2 separate regions of the Homo sapiens genome follow, and region 2 is linked to region 1. Evidence: promoter capture Hi-C in human tissues and cell types (Jung and others, 2019). All regions are on one chromosome and are shown on one strand. The core of a region is centred on a gene start or on the middle of the fragment in contact, and the rest is flanking DNA. Distances in the headings are between cores, read along the strand shown. Region 1 holds the start of ORM1 (orosomucoid 1). Region 2 overlaps TNC (tenascin C).

Region 1 (3,599 bases), core at 108-2,607:
TGATGGGGGACATAGTTGAAGGTACCACCTCTCCAACATACAGGCTTCTACCATTGGTTTGCAAAGGATCTTAAAGAGGGCATGAGAGAGAGGCAGATCTGAAGCCAGCCTGGAGTTCCAATTCTAGTTCTAATTATAAGCTGTGTGACCTTGGGGAAACTATTTGAGGTCTCTGTTCTTCTTTTTCCTCCTCTAATTCTCTCAGTGTCCTCTTAGAGTTGTTTCTGAGCACATCGTTAGAGCTCAAAAATGTTAGTGGTTATTTCTCTGTGCCCAAAGCCTCCAGGGCTCTACATCCAGCCCCCACCTTATGCTGGCCTGCCCTGTTCCCACAGTGAACCCTCCTGCCTGAGGGCTGGCCCTCACCGTATCTGGAGATGGTCCCATTTTCCCGCTGGACATTCAGGTAGGTGGTGTTATAGATGCACTGGTCCTGTCTAAAGCCAAACAGAAGGCGGAAGGAAAACAGGAAGATTATTGAGAAGTGGCCAATCGCCCATCACAGTCCTGGGGCAAGAGTCTGGTGGAGATTAAAGCCAGCCCTCCCGGTTCCACCCATGGGAAGGCCAAGGCCAGGAAGAAGGAGGGACTTGCTCAGGTCTTCTGGCCAGAAGCTGAGATGGGGGTGCATTGGAATGGGGGCTCTCACCGGGTCTGGTACTCTCTGAGAAAGATCGTGTCCTCTGTCTTGTTGGGGGTGAAGTAAAAGAAGGTTGCTTGGATCTCCTGAACCGACTTATTGTACTCCTCGTTTCGAAAGGCCGATGCGATATAAAACCACTTGCCAGTGATCTGGGGAGAAGGTGGGAGCTGGTGATGGGGGCTTGATGCTGAATCTTTGACTGTCAGCTGGGAGGAGACTCAGGCAGATCTCTCCCTGATTTTGCAGATGGGGAGATGAGGCCCCTGGTGGGCAGTGCGCATGCAGGAGCTCACCCTGAGGATCAGTCATTGCCCCCCAGGCAGCCCCTCCAGGCCCAGCACAGAACCGTCCTCCGTGAAGGACTCTGCAGTGAGGCTTCTGTGTTTGGAGGCAGGGGGTGCCTCCAGAGTCCCCTGGGCTGGTGAGAATTTCACCCTGGGGACCCAGAAGAGAAAAAGGCAGAGCCGGGAGTGGGGGTCCGACCACAGCCAGCAGGGAAAGGGAAGCCCAGAGAAGGGAGGCAGCTGCCCATGTGCTCAGGACAGGGCTAGCCCAGGCACTCACCCGGTCCAGGGTGGCGTTGGTGATGGGCACCGGTACTAGGTTGGCACACAATGGGATCTGGGCTTCCAGCAGAGGTAGGAGGCTCAGGACTGTAAGAACCCAGGACAGCGCCATACTGAGACCAGGAGGCACGTGGAGCCAGGCAGTGCTGGTGGCTGCAGGGTGCAGTCACCTTTATAATAAACTATGGGCGGTCACTTGGAGCCCAGCAAAAGTTTACTCTGTGTCTGTGACACAATCCTGCCAGCACTTGGGAAATGCCTCGCACAAAACCTCCCCCAAAGGCCAGCTCGGAGCACCGCCTCCAAACCCAGGTCTAATTTGAGTTCCTCACATGGAGAGGTTACAAAAGCCCTAGAGTATGGCTGCCCAAGGCCAAGGTGGGTGCGGGGCTGCAGCAACATTAGTAAACGTGTGAGTCCACAGATTTCCTAGAGAGGCCTCCCGCAGAGGAATCTCATGTCTTCATTCAATTCCTATCCCTCTGAGTGCCAAGACTTACTTCAGTGGGACCCAGCCACAAACCTAATGATGAAGCCACCTTTGAGGGTCCCCAGGCTGGCATGGGATGTATGTTGTGGCGGGGAGAGTTGGGGTGAAGGATGCCGGGGAAGACAAACATAGATTCAGTTCCACTGAGTGTGGCAACAGCTGTGTCAGAGCCAAAGTTCATTGGGGCCCCAACCCAGCCCTGGACGCAGGCACATTTCCAAAAAGGGACATCCAAGTTGAATGTCTATTTCCAGTAAATATACTACTCGAAGCATCTCCCAACATCTCAAACAGGAAACTGTCTCCCTGTTTTCCCCCATTCCCTGCCATCTGAGCAGGCAGCTTGCTTCTCTTTCACCAATACGCCCCCAATCCTGGAGCAGTGCCCAGCACTTCAAGGGCACTCGGTATATTCTGTGGAATGAGTGATTCCGTGGCCCATTTGTGTTCCTACCTCACGGGTCAAGTCTTTATTTGTATGAATAAATACTTTCAGAAAGTATTCATTTTTTTTTTTTTTTGATACGGAGTTTCACTCCCGTCCCCCAGGCTGGAGTGCAATGGCTCAATCTCGGCTCACTGCAACCTGTGCCTCCTGGGTTCAAGCGATTCTCCTGCCTCAGCCTCCTGAGTCGCTGGGATTACTGGTGCCCTCCACAACGCCCAGCTAATTTTTTTTGTTGTTGTTATTTTCAGTAGAGATGGGGTTTCTCCATGTTGGCCAGGCTGGTCTGGAACTCCCGACCTCAGGTGACTCACCCGTCTCGGCCTCCCAAAGTGCTGGGATTACTCAGAAAGTATTCTTACGGTATGATTATAATTTTGCATTCTTATTCATTTCATTCTGAATAACTTTCATATTTCAGTGTAGTTTGTAGTTAAAAGCTTAATGGACCCAAGATGGGAGAGTCACCTGAGTCCTGGAGTTCAAGACTAGCCTGGGCAACATAGTGAGACCCTATCTTTACACAAAAATATTTAAAAATTAGCCAGGTCGGCCAGGCGCGGTGGCTCACGCCTGTAATCCCAGCACTTTGGGAGGCTGAGGCGGGCGGATCATGAGGTCAAGAGATGGAGACCATCCTGGCTAACATGGTGAAACCCCATCTCTACTAAAAATACAAAAACAAAATTAGCTGGGCGTGGTGGCAGGCGCCTGTAGTCCCAGCTACTTGGGAGGCTGAGATGGGAGAATGGCGTGAACCTGGGAGGCAGAGCTTGCAGTGAGCTGAGATGGCGCCACTGCACTCCAGCCTGGGTGACAGAGTGAGACTCCGTCTCAAGGAAAACAAACAAACAAACAAAAAAATTAGCCAGGTCTGGTGCCATGTACCTGAAAGCCTAGCTACTCTGGACTCTGAGGCTGGAAGATTGCTTGAGCCCAGGAGTTCAAAGCTGCAGTAAGCTGTGATTTTGCCACTACACTCCAGCCTGTATGATGGAGCAAGAGACCCTGTCTCAAAAATAAATAAATAAATAAATAAATAAAAGTGTAATGGATGCACAACTTTTCATTCACTTACTCTATTCTTTTTTTGTTTTTGTTTTTGTTCTGAAATGGCATCTCACTCTGTCGCCCAGGCTGGAGTGTAGTGGTGGGATCTTGGCTCACTGCAACCTCTGCCACCCAGGCTCAAGAGATCCTCCCAGCTCAGCCTCCCGAGTAGCTAGGACCACAGGTGCGTGCCACCACACCTGGCTAACTTTTTGTACTTTTGTAGAGATGGGGGTCTCATCATGTTGCCCAGGTTGGTCTCGAACTCCTGAGCTTAAGCAATCTGCCCACCTCGGCCTCCCAGAGTACTGGGATTACAGGCATGAGCCACGGCGCCTGGCCCGCTTACTATATTCTAACCTACTTAGTCATGTCCTTTATGTCTACAGCACTTTTTTTTTTTTT
Region 2 (4,099 bases), core at 117-2,616, 700 kb before region 1:
AGAAAGCAAGCCTCTCTTTCATCCTTCCATTCAATTATGGAAGAAGAAAGAGATGACATGGAAAGGAGCCACAGGAGGGGAGCCCCAGCTCCAGCTCTGCTCCTCCTGCTGTGTGGCCTCTGCAAAGTCACTCTCCCTCTCTGGCTTTAGTGCCCACCACAGTACAAGAAGGCGTGGCTTCCAACCCTGAACTATCAGAGGAAAGAACCAGGGCAAAGGCAGGCAGCATGTGCACCAAGCTGTTGGACTACCATACTCACTGTAACTGAGTAATTACAAGCGGATTTGCCCATGAAATGAATGAGCCATTCTTAAACCTCACATCCCTGTAAGACTCAGAAACTGCCCATGTCAGTGAATGCCAAACAATTAGAAGCAAATAAAGTGTCTCTATTTTTTTCCCATCTCACTAGCCATTAACTTCCCCACAGTGGGGCAAGGGGCCATGTGGGGTTTCATGGATTGACTCTACCATCTGCAGACTTCGCTGAAGAGTCAAAGTTGAAACCTGGAAGCCAAGACACAGATACAGTTTTTTCTTGTAGAAAGCTTTGGCCAAAATTTCAAGGATATTTCCCCCTACTTGAGACTAGGGAAGTAATATTTACCAAGCACCTACGACGTGCCCAGCTCTGTGATAGCTCCTTTACAAACTCATTTAATCTTCATCTCATCTTTCAAGGCTAACATTATCAGATCTTAAGAAAGAAAAAAAAATAGTAAAACCGAGGCTCAGAAGATATTGAGAACTTAAGACTATTTATCTCTCAAGTAAGAACACTGATATTTAACCCTATATGTCAAATTGTAAAACTGTGTTTTGTTGAGCTGTTCGTTCTGCTATTCCATACCAAACCCCTATCAAAATACTCCATAGGAATCTCGTGAATTACAGACACACACACACACACCATGTATGTAGCTATTCAATTCTAGAACTTCTAATAATGACCTGAACTCCTTCAGAACCTATTCCTAAGGACGGCAGATTTCATCAGCCACCATTTTGCCTCAAGAGGAAAGACCAAAGCTCCATGCAAACTCAGGCGACTCTTGACTCAGGTGAAAAACTGGGTCAGATTCAGCCAGTTCCTTTGAAAGTTTCCACAACCCAGACCAACAGAGAGATAGGCAAGAGGCAGCTGTGATATACCAAATGGTCAAATTGAAACAGAACTCATTTAGTTTGAATGACTAAATAGCAATGATCAGTGAACACCTCGCCTAACAGTAACCAACCTGGAGGCCTTCTCTCTCTCTCTCTCTCTCTCTTTTTTTTTTTTAACAGGGCGTTAACTGGTTCCACTGGAAGGGCCACGAACACTCAATCCAGTTTGCTGAGATGAAGCTGAGACCAAGCAACTTCAGAAATCTTGAAGGCAGGCGCAAACGGGCATAAATTCCAGGGACCACTGGGTGAGAGAGGAATAAGGCCCAGAGCGAGGAAAGGATTTTACCAAAGCATCAATACAACCAGCCCAACCATCGGTCCACACCTGGGCATTTGGTGAGAGTCAAAGCTGACCATGGATCCCTGGGGCCAACGGCAACAGCATGGGCCTCACCTCCTCTGTGATTTCTTTCTTTGCACCAAAGACATCAGTCTCCAACATGTTTCTGTTTTGTTGTTTGATTCAGCAAAAATCTCCCAGTGACAACATCGCAATAGTTTTTTACTTCTCTTAGGTGGCTCTGGGAATGGGAGAGGGGTAGGATGTACAGGGGTAGTTTGTTTTAGAACCAGCCGTATTTTACATGAAGCTGTATAATTAATTGTCATTATTTTTGTTAGCAAAGATTAAATGTGTCATTGGAAGCCATCCCTTTTTTTACATTTCATACAACAGAAACCAGAAAAGCAATACTGTTTCCATTTTAAGGATATGATTAATATTATTAATATAATAATGATGATGATGATGATGAAAACTAAGGATTTTTCAAGAGATCTTTCTTTCCAAAACATTTCTGGACAGTACCTGATTGTATTTTTTTTTTAAATAAAAGCACAAGTACTTTTGAGTTTGTTATTTTGCTTTGAATTGTTGAGTCTGAATTTCACCAAAGCCAATCATTTGAACAAAGCGGGGAATGTTGGGATAGGAAAGGTAAGTAGGGATAGTGGTCAAGTGGGAGGGGTGGAAAGGAGACTAAAGACTGGGAGAGAGGGAAGCACTTTTTTTAAATAAAGTTGAACACACTTGGGAAAAGCTTACAGGCCAGGCCTGTAATCCCAACACTTTGGGAGGCCAAGGTGGGAGGATAGCTTAACCCCAGGAGTTTGAGACCAGCCTGAGCAACATAGTGAGAACTTGTCTCTACAGAAAAAAAAAAAAAAAAAAATTTAATTAGGCAAGCGTGGTAGTGCGCACCTGTCGTCCCAGCTACTCAGGAGGCTGAGGTAGGAAAATCACTGGAGCCCAGGAGTTAGAGGTTACAGTGAGCTATGATCACACTACTGCACTCCAGCCTGGGCAACAGAGGGAGACCCTGTCTCTAAATAAAAAAAGAAAAGAAAAAAAAAGCTTACAACTTGAGATTCAGCATCTTGCTCAGTATTTCCAAGACTAATAGATTATGGTTTAAAAGATGCTTTTATACTCATTTTCTAATGCAACTCCTAGAAACTCTATGATATAGTTGAGGTAAGTATTGTTACCACACATGGGCTAAGATCCCCAGAGGCAGACTGCCTGAGTTCAATTCTTGGCTCCACCATTCCCAAGTTCCCTAACCTCTCTATGCCTCAGTTTCCTCTTCTGTAAAGTAGGGACACTCATACTTCTCATTTCAGAACATTTTTGTGAAGAATAAATTATGTTATCCATTTGAGGCCCTTAGAATGGTACCCGGTGTATATTAAGTGCTAGTACATGTTAGCTATCATCATTATCACTTTATATGAGATGGACTGGGGTTCATAGAAACCCAATGACTTGATTGTGGCTACTACTCAATAAATAATAGAATTTGGATTTAAACCCAGGTCTTCTGGCTCCAATGTTCCTGCTCTTTCCCGGTCCCTTAATGAAAATCTCTCCTTCTTTGGGGAAATGTGTGCTGTGGCAAGAGAGTGAAGGTTGCAGAATGGGATATGGGGGCAGTTCAACTGGATGCTTCCTCAGGCTTCTACAATCCTGAACTCTGAAAACTAGGAAGAATGTCTATTAGGAATATCGCCTTCTCCTCTACACTGCAGTCCCCAAAAAGGGAGCAAGCCCATATTCCTCCAGCCTCAGACTGAACACATCTAGTGATGGGGAACCCATTGCCTGGATGGCAGGTCTGTTAGTCCTCAGCAAATATAGTGAGTCAGAACTGCTCAACGCATAACATTTCTCTTTTTAAACAAGGGTATATGGGGGGAGAGTAATTCCCAGTTCATTCTCTTAGGGATTTTCAGAAAATTGACTTATTTAATAAAATAAGTCAAGTTTGGGCTGATAGGCCTCATTCAAATGGAATGTGATGGCTCTGGAGCAAGGATCAGAGGAATTTATGGTTCCAGCCATATCCTTTGTTGCTGAGTTTATCTTGCTTTAATAAATGCTGTCATGTTAGATACACAATGTGCTGTTCCAGATCATAAGAACGGTTGCATGCAATTCAGCCATAGCAACGCTCTCCTGGCTATATAAATCCAAACAAACGGGCTCCCTGTAGCAACCAGGCCTCGAGTTGGAGGCTTACCTCTCCACTGGCTGCTGACTTGTGAGTCTCTAAACCCAAGTCCTATCTCCTCTCCAGAACTGTAGATGTACTTAATTAAGCTTGAAGGTATTCCCCACAAGCCACACAAGAATCAAATTTGGATTGGTGAAGAAGCCACATCAAACAGGAGTCAGTAATAACCCAAATGGGGACAGGGCAGGCAACCGGGTCTGAGGCCATGGCATTCAAAGACCACAGTCTCTAGTGTGAGCTAATCATTTCTCAAACGTGTCCTTCAGCCTCTGGCTCTGTGGCTTGTTTCAGGAAACCTCTTCCATCTTGAAAGTTCTCTTAAAATTCCACTTCACCCTCAAGACCTGGGCCCTACCCCTGCCCCCATGAAACAGTCAAAATATCTCTATTGGGAAGTAATTTCCAGGGTGTTCGA

Evidence for each region. The method cuts DNA at HindIII sites, captures the fragments that hold promoters and counts their contacts. A contact is called where the count stands out against the background at its distance.
Region 2: a contact is called between a fragment that was not itself captured here and the fragment with the promoter of ORM1 in region 1, in 1 of the 25 tissues and cell types used here (spleen).

Annotation. Positions count from the first base shown.
Region 1 is chr9:114,320,856-114,324,454 of GRCh38, reverse strand. It overlaps ORM1 (orosomucoid 1), which reads right to left and starts at 1,357. Exons shown (of 6, transcript NM_000607.4): 1 at 1,208-1,357; 2 at 650-792; 3 at 367-437. The coding sequence starts at 1,321. The HindIII fragment of the contact is 10,741 bases long and covers 292-3,599 here.
Region 2 is chr9:115,018,457-115,022,555 of GRCh38, reverse strand. It overlaps TNC (tenascin C), which reads left to right. Exons shown (of 28, transcript NM_002160.4): 28 at 1,289-2,981. The coding sequence ends at 1,399. Among named protein-coding and RNA genes, the nearest start is that of TNFSF8, 90 kb to the right of the region's middle. The HindIII fragment of the contact is 3,565 bases long and covers 1-3,148 here.